2 separate regions of the Homo sapiens genome follow, and region 1 is linked to region 2. The links are contacts of gene promoters, found by promoter capture Hi-C in blood cells and fetal thymus (Javierre and others, 2016). All regions are on one chromosome and are shown on one strand. Each heading gives the region's core, a stretch centred on a gene start or on the middle of the fragment in contact. The rest is flanking DNA. Distances are from core to core; before and after follow the strand shown.

Region 1 (5,036 bases), core at 2,161-4,660, 6.7 Mb after region 2:
CGGGCCCCGCCCTGCTGGAAGACAGGGCGGACCGGGCAAGGCAGGCGCGGGGCGGGGCGGGGCGGGGCTCCGGCTGGCGGGGCGCGGCCAGCGTGCAGGGCTGGGCCAGCGTGCGGGGCTCCTCCCCTTTCCTCCGGCGGCGCCGGCGGCCGCAGAACTTCCGGGTCGGCGCGGAGGCGGGGCGGAGGCGCCGCGGCGGCTGTTATTGTTCGGCTGGGCTCGGTCGGGCGCTGTCTCCCTCGGCTCTGCGGGTGTCAGTTCGTCCGGCTTCCTCACAGCCCCTCACTCCCGGCGGCTGACAGCAGCAGCGGCGGCGGCGGGCGGCGCCTGGCGTTTCGAGGCTGAGCGGCACCGGGGTTGGGGCGCGGAGGAGGAGCAGCAGCGGGAGGAGGAGCCGTGTGCCCTGGCACTGAGCGGCCGCGGCCATGGCGTACGCCTATCTCTTCAAGTACATCATAATCGGCGACACAGGTGAGGGCCCCGGGCGCGGCCGGGCGGGTGTCGGCGGCCTCCGGACCCGGGCTGAGGGGCAAACGGCGTCTGGCGGTGGCGGGGACGCGGACTCCACCCGGCGCCTCCCTCCTGGCCGCGCCGCTCCATTTCCGCAGTGCTGGAGCTGGTGACGTGGGCACTGCGAGCGGCCGCGGCCTGGCCAGGCCCGGTCTGCGGCCCCCGACCCGGCCAGTCTTGCAGCTGAGGGCCGTGGCAGCCGTTTGCGACGCCCGATTCAGGAAGTGTGTGACAGGAGGGGAGGCCTAGCGCAGGGCCGCCGGGGCCCGACTCACATGACTGCACCCCACCCCCAGGGCCCCTTGCGTTAGGTCTCTTCGCGGCCCCAGGAAAAAGAAGGAGGGAAACCTAGGGGAGCAGAAGGTGTTGGGGCCCGGGTCTTGGTTCCTGACCAGTCCAACCTTCCTCCACCAGCACGCATCTATCAAGGCCTGGGCAAGGCGCTTTTTGGCGTGGGACAGGCAGCCGAGAAAGAGAAAAGGAAACCTTTAAAATATGTATTTTATATATATACATATATATAAAATATGCTTTTTTAACACCTTCAACTCTCACGTCAGAATAAGTCACATCTCATTACTTGACGGCTGGAGAATCCCTTTCGGGGTTAGGAAAGCATGAACGAGTTCTGTGGACTTTTGCCACGTGTGAACTGGGGTTATATAGTAATGTAAAGTCGTTCAGTGCTCTGGGTGTGTACTTAGGTATGTGTATGTTGAGGACGCTGATGTTTTAGATATGTCAAGTCCGGTGTCACAACTGCTAATTTTCAGGTGAGCTCATGTCCATGAGCTGAAAGAAATTCAGTTATTCTCACTTAAAATGACGTCCTAGTATATTTCACAGAAAAGTAAACAGACTCTTCGTAGATATTTTTAATACCTGTGATTTGGCATTACTTTGAATCTAATAATAAACATAAAGATTGTTTAGATGTTGCAACTATTAATATACCAGAGTCTGATTTCAGTGGTTACTCTTGCACAACTTTGGACCCTTTGCACAACTTCGGTCATGTAAGCAGCAGTTTGTAGTTGAACTAATGATGTGGCAGGTTCTATAAGTAACTAAAGAAGCATGTTGGCCGGACGCGGTGGCTCACACCTGTAATCCCAGCACTTTCGGAGGCCGAGGTGGGGGATCACCTGAGATCAGGAGTTCGAGACCTGCTTGGCCAACGTGGTGAAACCCCGTCTCTACTAAAAGTACAAAAGTTAGCCGGGCGTCGTGGCAGGCGCCTGTAATCCCAGCCACTTGGGAGGCTGAGGCGGGAGGATCACTTGAGCCCGGAAGGTGGAGTTTGCAAAAAAAAAAAAAAAAAAAAAAAAAAAGCATATTTATTGCTGCCTGAAAGAAAAAATTTCTGCTAGATACATGAGTTTTCAGCAAGGTTTTCTGATGCGTGCGTGCGTGTGTGTGTGTGTGGAAATTGGATTTGTAAACTTTAAAAGAAAAATGCTGTGGTGTATTTGGAAGAAGGAGAATTCTAAAGTCTTCTGGCAAAATTTCATTTAGGCTGTAAAAACAAGATTGGAGAGGAATGCCACATTAACTGTAATATGAGTGGGTTTGAGAAATAGAAGCTTGTGACTGTGGCATTTGGCTATCTCATTAGTGGTGAAAATTCAAATCAGACTTTGCTGGTTGCCTTTTTTCAGTTTTTTATTTGAGGCTGTACTGTGGATAAATAAAGTATTGTGCATGGAGTAGTGGGGCTACAAATCCTAACAAGTTAATGCTCTGTTCTCTTGGAATTTGCTCTTATCCAAAAGCAGTCCCCACGCAATTCAAAGGGAAGACACTTCTTTCTTGTCATTGCTGCTGATACGACCTAGTTCAGGAACAGAATTCTTGACACTGTTATAGTCTGCAGCAGTACTTCTCCCTACTCCAGTTCAGCCAGTGTAGTTTACTGTCAGTTTAGTCATCCTGAAGCATGAATGTCAAAAGGCTACTCCTGTTTGCTCACAATTTTTAGTTTGACCTTCAGTGAACTCTATATTTTAGCCCCTATCTACATTTCTCGCCTTCTTTCCCGCTATTCCCCACCTTGCTTCTGCCATTGAGTCCCAGTGACTGATTTTGGTGTTTTTTTCCTGGGCACTGCTAGTCTCTATTCTTAGAGTGCTTTCCGGCACAATCTCTCCCTGTGGAAGATCCATCAGTCCTTCAAAGTCTTATCTGAGTTTTCCGTAATGCCTTCACAGTCAACATATATTAAGCTCTTATTGTGTGAAGATTTTCACAGTATCCTGGCTGAAAGTGACTACTCCGTTTCTGAATTTATGTTTCTCACTTTGTGTCATTCTTCTGATATTGATCCCAGACTTTTCTGTTGTATAGATACTTGTATAGGCACCTCTATTATGTAGGTACCTATTATATACTTCTTGAAGTCAGAAAAGATGTTTTGTATGGCTCTGTATTTCTTTCAGGAAGAGCGTAGTAGAAGGTAGGCCCTGTATATTTAACTAATAAGAGAGGAGCCAAACAGGCTACTATATTCCTGTTTGTATATATTAATAACTTAACAGAAGTGGTGTCGTTGTTGTTGTTGTTGTTGCCCAGTTCTGCCACCTTCTTGCTTACTAATTTGGGCAAAATCCTTTACCATATTTCTTTAATGCAGAGTGTACCCATAGTTGTAAGATACACTCAGTGTGGCCCTCCCCTAGAAAAGATGACTTTAAAATCAGTAATGTGAGATCCACTTTGATTTTTTAAAAAGTCAGGGTCAAAAACATGCATCTTAGAATGAAGGAAATCACCTAATTTTTCTGTTTCCCTGTTTCCGTAACCTATAACCTTCTCTCAGTATGTGGGATAAAATGAGGATAAATGTGAAAGTACTTTGATTTCTCAAAGGAAAGGAACAATGCACATTTTTCCTTTTCAGAATTCCCTCTTTAATAGAAGAGGTTTTAAAAACTTTTACATGATCATGATGATACTATTGAGCTGTTTTCTTACTGTAAGACTAAATGCAGTTAAAATGTAGCTTTAAATTTTTTCCTTGTTCCTGTCTTGTTTCTGAATCATTTAGTAAAATGTGTCATTTAAATCTAGATGTAAAGTGGAAAGTGGTTTTTAATAAGCAGTTAATTATCAAGCATGGAGAGAAAAAATACGAATCTATAGTAATTTTTCTTCTGAAATTCTAGCATCTGCCAACCATTTTAACCTTATCACTAACCCTCCCTGCTGCTCAACGCTCAGCAAGGTAAACAAAGGCACAGGTTTGGTTGTGTTCTTATTTCTGCTAATATCTGAAGCACTCCTTCTTGTTCTTCCCTATCAAAAAAAGTTATGTCAAAAATTTTTGTCACCTGGCCAACTCCTTTTTATCCATTCTTTTGAGAGTTTAACAAATCCTACCACTCCCTGTTGCATTTTATGCTGGTCCCCTCCTCTCTTCCCTCATTCTGTTTCCCTTCTCTTCAGTCCCAGTCCCACTTACATTTTATTTTTTATTTTTCACTCTTATGTATATACCCACCACTTCCATTTTATTTTATTTTACTTATATTATTTATCTATCTATTGAGACATGATCTCTGTTGCCCAGGCAGGAGTGCAGTGGCACTATCACGGCTCACTCACTACAGCTTCAGTCTCCTGGGCCTAAGCAATCCTCCCACCTAAGTCTTCCAAGTAGCTGGGAACACAGGCACATGCCACCATGCCTGGCTAATTTTTAAATTTTTGTAGAGATGGGCTCTCACTGTGTTGCTCAGGCTGGTCTCAAACTCCTGGGCTTAAGCCATCCTCCCACTTCAGCCTCCCAAAGTGCCAGATTACAAGCACAAGCCACAGCTCTCAGCCCCACTTGCATTTTAAATTATCTTTTTAGTTAGGAAGGTCTTTGCCTTTGTCTTAGATGCCAGGGTACACCATTGAGTGTCAGATTTATTTAATAGTTAAGTGGATGGATCCTTGAGGGGAGGCACTAGGTGATGTTTCAGCTGAAATTAGAATGATGAGTAGGCACCGCCAGAGTGGGCATGGGGGAATGTCTGGTATGTAGTTGAAAGTTTATTTCTGGCTCAGGAGAGAGTAATCTGGGATAGAGACTTGGGAGCTAATAACATAAAATGGAGTCCCTATTACCTGAGAGTTCATTTTCTGAGCTTTTGAAATTACAAGGTTATGTAGGGAAGAAAAATTCTCATGATATGAAAATAATTATTAATAAGTTATCACCTTAAAAAATTAACTACTCAAGCTTACTTCTAATTCCCATCCTCCTGATTGGCGTAGGGGCTTGCTGATCATAATATAGTTCAAATTAGTTGCAAAGTGAAATTATGTATCATGCTAAAATTGCAAGCATTTGTTTCTTTTTTTTGAGATGGAGTTTTGCTCTTGTCACCCAGGCTGGAGTGCAGTGGCGCCATCTGGGTTCACTGCAACCTCCACCTCTTAGGTTCAAGCGATTCTCCTGCCTCAGCCTCCCCAGTAGCTGGGATTACAGGCGTCTGCCCCCACGCCCAGCTGATTTTTGTATTTTTAGTAGAGATGGAGTTTTG
Region 2 (4,763 bases), core at 2,187-4,686:
ACTTCATATCAATCATGGGCTTCACAGCTTAAAAATCAGCTTGAAAAGCACTGACTGATAGGATCAAGTCCAAACTCCTTCCAACCACACACCCACACACAGCATCTTCACGATCGGCCCCTGGCTGCCTCTCTAGCCTCAGCTCTCTGCATTGCCTGCCTCCAAAACATGTATGACTCCCACCCAGTGTGCTGTTTTTGCTTCCCTGCCTTTGCTCACATTATCTGTTCTATTCCCAAGGCTGCTCCTACTTGCCACATGGCTAAATACCCATCATCCTCAAAAACTCAGTTCAGGGACCAGCCCCTTCAGGAAAATTTCCAAGGGGTAGAATTACTTGTCTTTTTTATGTGCACCTGCCAGACCCTGTGCATCTTTCTATTGCCACAGTTAACATACTGAATTAGAGCCGGGCACGGTGGCTCACGCCTGTAATCCCAGCACTTTGGGAGGCCAAGAGGGGCAGATCACGAGGTCAGGAGTTCGAGACCAGCCTGGCCAACATGTTGAAACCCTGTCTCTACTAAAAATACAAAAAAATTAGGCGGGCAAGGTGTCAGGTGCCTGTAATCCCAGCTACTCGGGAGGCTGAGGAAGGAGAACTGCTTGAACCCGGGAGGCGGAGGATGCAGTGAGCCAAGACTGCCCCACTGTACTCCAGCCTGGGCAACAGAGTGAGACTCTGTCTCAAAAAAAAAAAAAAATAGTGAATTAAAATGATCTATTAATACATCTGACTTCCCTACTAGAGTTTTAGTTCCTTCAGGGACAGTACTCTGTATGGAATTTTTGTAGCCTCAAAGCCTGGAAAAATGCCTCAAACTTGGCAGGTAATCAATAAATGTTTGATGAGTGATTAAATTAACAGAAATTAAAGGATCATTTTTGTACATTATAGATCCCTCCTACAACAACACAAACTATTAATACTAATATAAAATTAACACTAATATAAAACTAGATTCCTCAATTTGTTTTTCAAAATGCATATGCAAATCTGAACTGAATTCCTTGGTAACTCAGTTATAAATATACCAAAATAAATATGAAGTCAATAAAATATGGTCAAGAATACATGAATGCTCACTTTATAGATAAATACAAAATACTGAAACATCAGCACATTAAATATTAATACATACAAGAAAGAAGGGGGAACTAAAATGTATTGTATTCAACATACTAATGCTTGTATTCTACTGTGCTAATAAATACATTATTTCAGCAACAAGCCTGTGGGGTATGTCTCCCCATTTCACATTTTACTTTATTGAGCCTCAGAGAAGTTAAGTGATTTGCTTAAGATCACCAAACTAATAGCAAGAACCAAAACTCAAATCCAAGTCTCTCAACTCAAATATCTGTGCTTCTTATTAGTTGTATGCACCACTCTAAAAAGGCCACCTGCCCCCATGCTGATTGCCAGGGCATATCAGACCAGTCTAGCAGGTTTTGCCCCTCATCCCCTTCCTCCCTCCGTTAGCCCAAGGACATTCCTCCTATGTTTCCCACTTATTCCAAAAGTACTTCCCCAGGCAGCCAGAGAAGGTCAAAAGCACCATAAGCCGCTCTGCTTCCCCACTAGGGCGCCAAGCTGTTTCCACCCCACTACACTTAACTCCCTAAGACAGCTAATTATTCTGAAGAGGAAGTGTTTCTTCCACATTTTTCAGTATTTTCCCTGTATTTCTCTCATAGAAGCATGACCATGAAAAAGTCTGATGCAAAAGCATATGACTGTCCATGATTCACAGCAAATTGGTACTTACTGAAGATAGGATTGCCAGTTGACTTTGTTTGCACGAACTTCTGCAGCCTTGGCAGCAATAATATTGGTGGGGACAGCAGCATCCACAGCACCTCGGATATCCATTTTGGTCATCTAAACTTCGTAATCTTGAATGTCTTTCAACAAATCTTCAATTTTGATGCAAGGTAAAAACAGAATACGAGGTGTTTCTTTTTTTTACAACTATTAATATTATGATTATGAATATCGTGATCACTTTAATCTCCCCAGGCATTCAACTCAAATATTAAATGTCCTAAGTCTGAAAGTATCATTATATTTCAAATATTGTCCACTGCTCCATAAAAGAGTTCTTTAGGCTTTTGCTTTTCTAGAAAAATTTTTTTCATTATTGGCACTAACACTGCAGTAAGATTTTTAAAGCAATCACCTAATATACTGAAATCAGAAATCATGATTAAATAGAATAGGTATAAATATGGGAAAAATTGTAAATTTATACAATTGTGGTTAACTTTTCTCATAGAGAAACAATAAGAATATGAATAGTACGGATAAGGCTAGTTTTATAAACATTTACTAAGCATCATTTTGAAGTGGCACATTAAAAATTCTAAGTCCTTTCGAAAATTACTCAAATTAAAATACACAAAGTGGGAACATAATTTCTTAGAAGACAGTGCTTTCCTTTTCAAACAAAATTCATAGTATTTGCAAAATCAAAATTCGGAGAGAAAGTTTTAGAACAAATACATATTACAATTTAGGTAAGCCAACAATGGCGGTCTGGCTGGACGACAAGAACCTACAATAATGAAATTCTATGTAATTCTCACTCCTAAACTTCCAGATACAAACGACTGATTTTAACACAAAGCAAAATACAGGTTGCCACTTGCAAAACATAAATTCACGGCCATGGCCACAAAGAAGTTAAAATCCTACCCAAAATTATATTCCGGGTTTCCAACGATCTTAATCAATTTGGAACTTAATCTCTGTATCTGAAGATTTGCTGTATAAACAACCCTGGGCAGCGCGAACGACAGGGCCCAGGAAAAAACAGGCTTCAACTGGGCCAGGCTGGAACTCTGCAGCCAAGGAGGCTCAGCCTCAGCGGCCCGTCCTGGCGTAGCTCAAGGTGTCTCTAGACAATTACCTAAGTCCCTGAACTACTCGCACCCCCAGCGATCCAGGGCCGTGGCCCAGTCCTGGAGAAGGTATACTTTTTACCCCTCCCCCTCCACTCTCCTGCCCGCCCCTGACGTTTCTTCCCCCTGCGAGAAAGGCTCCAGAATTTCGCTTAATAAACCTGGTTGAGGCCTGGAAGAAAAGCAATCTGGCAACCGGGGGCCGAAGAACAGGAGAGGACCAAGCGGCGAGACACCAGCACGCACCAGGCAAGCTGGAGAAACTGCAAGAGTCGCCTGACCTGGTCTGCAGCCTGAGACCAAACAACGCGAGGGCGGCCTTACCTCGCGAATCCTCGGGACCCCACAACGCACCCAAAGCCGGCAGGGAGGGTGGTCCGGGGCGCCGGGGACACAGCCGGGCTGGGGCGCCGCGTCAGAGCCAAGTAGGCGTCTCCTGTCAGGTCCAGAGGTCTGAGCAGTGGAGGGAGACTCCGGGAGCCGAAAGTGAAGCGGGTCCCGCACCAAGGAGACGTTGAGGGCCGCACAGGTAGAAGGAAGCCAGGGCGGCCGCAGTAGAATGACAGAGGCGCCGGTCACGTGATCGGAGGCACGTGACTGCTGCGGAAGGCGGAAGCCGGGAGACTCCAAAGCAGCAAGAGGAGGGGCGGGCGCTGCGGCGGGGCTTGTTCGGTGCGGACAACTGGATTCCCGAGTCCGTAACTTGGGCCCCGGAGCGACGCAAGGGTCGGGCCCCAGCCAGCCAGGGCAGGTGGGAGGCGGCGAGCGTGGCGGGCACGCTAAGACCCGCCGCCCCCAGACCTAGTGCCTCGCCTAGGGGAGGCCGAGGACCTCCGCCCGGAAGCAGCTAGCAGAGGCCAAAACGCTCTTATTGTAACCGTCATTCTTTTGAAAAGTTTGATTTCGCGCTTTCAAATTAATTTCCATTTGGATTTAACAGCTCCATGAAGCAGGCGTTCTTATTCTGATTTTAAATAGAAAACTCGGGCTGAGAAGTGGGTCTGAAAAGCTCTCTTAACCTAGGGTTGCACATTTAGCAAATAATAAATTCCATTGCAGTATTTACTTTTATACTAAAAAGTTATTCGTTGTTTATCTAAAATTCACATTTACAGGACGTCTGGTATTTTATCCAACAGTCCCATCTGGAGCCCAAATTTTCCCCTAGTCCAGGCCTCAGCAACTGTCTTTGCCTTAAAGTAAGAATGTACTGCCCTGGAGGTGAAGTATATATGATAGCATGTTTTCCTTAAAAAGCAATGAAAGGGGCCGGGCGCGGTGGCTCACTCCTGTAATCCCAGCACTTTGGGAGGCCGAGGCCAGTGGATCACCTGAGGTCTGGAGTTCGAGACCAGCTGACCAACATGGTGAAACCCCATCTCTACTAAAAATACAAAAAATTAGCTGGGTGTGGTGGCGCATGCCTGTAATCCCAGCTGCTTGGGAGGCTGAGGTAGGAAAATCACTTGAACCCAGGAGGCAGAGGTTGCAGTGAGCCAAGACCGCACCATTGTACTCCAGCCTGGGCAGAAAAAGCAAAACTCCGTCTCAAAAAGAAAAAAAAAAAATTCTTTGAAAGGGATTTATAACCAACCCATTTTTACTCGTAAAATTAAAGTCAGAATAATCAAAATCATGCATTGATTATGAATAAAGATATATAATAACAGTGTCAAAGATTGTACTAGGTCACTCATTCTGTCTTAGCCAGAAGTGAAAGTCTGTTGTTTTGAAAGCAAATCTAAGGGGAAAAACTTTCATAAAAGAGAAAAAGAAACCGATCGTGTACTAAGAAACTCCCAAAAGCTGAAACAGCATGTTTTCTGTGTAACTGAGCAAAGCTGGCAGTGAGGCCTGATCTT

What was found. Contacts are between HindIII fragments. The CHiCAGO score rates a contact against its expected background, and 5 or more counts as called.
Region 1: a fragment that was not itself captured here is called in contact with the fragment with the promoter of ATP6V1H in region 2 in 1 of 17 cell types (total CD4 T cells); the score reaches 5.3 in total CD4 T cells.

Annotation. Positions count from the first base shown.
Region 1 is chr8:60,516,783-60,521,818 of GRCh38, forward strand. It overlaps RAB2A (RAB2A, member RAS oncogene family), which reads left to right and starts at 205. Exons shown (of 8, transcript NM_002865.3): 1 at 205-471. The coding sequence starts at 426. LOC124901949 (a long non-coding RNA gene) reads left to right here. Exons shown (of 3, transcript XR_007060922.1): 3 at 1-16. RefSeq lists enhancers at 1-213, 1,449-1,638 and a silencer at 1-658. The HindIII fragment of the contact is 2,639 bases long and covers 2,092-4,730 here.
Region 2 is chr8:53,839,809-53,844,571 of GRCh38, forward strand. ATP6V1H (ATPase H+ transporting V1 subunit H) reads right to left here and starts at 3,437. Exons shown (of 14, transcript NM_015941.4): 1 at 3,226-3,437; 2 at 1,770-1,917. The coding sequence starts at 1,882. RefSeq lists an enhancer at 3,386-3,525 and a silencer at 3,596-3,745. The HindIII fragment of the contact is 7,596 bases long and covers 1-4,763 here.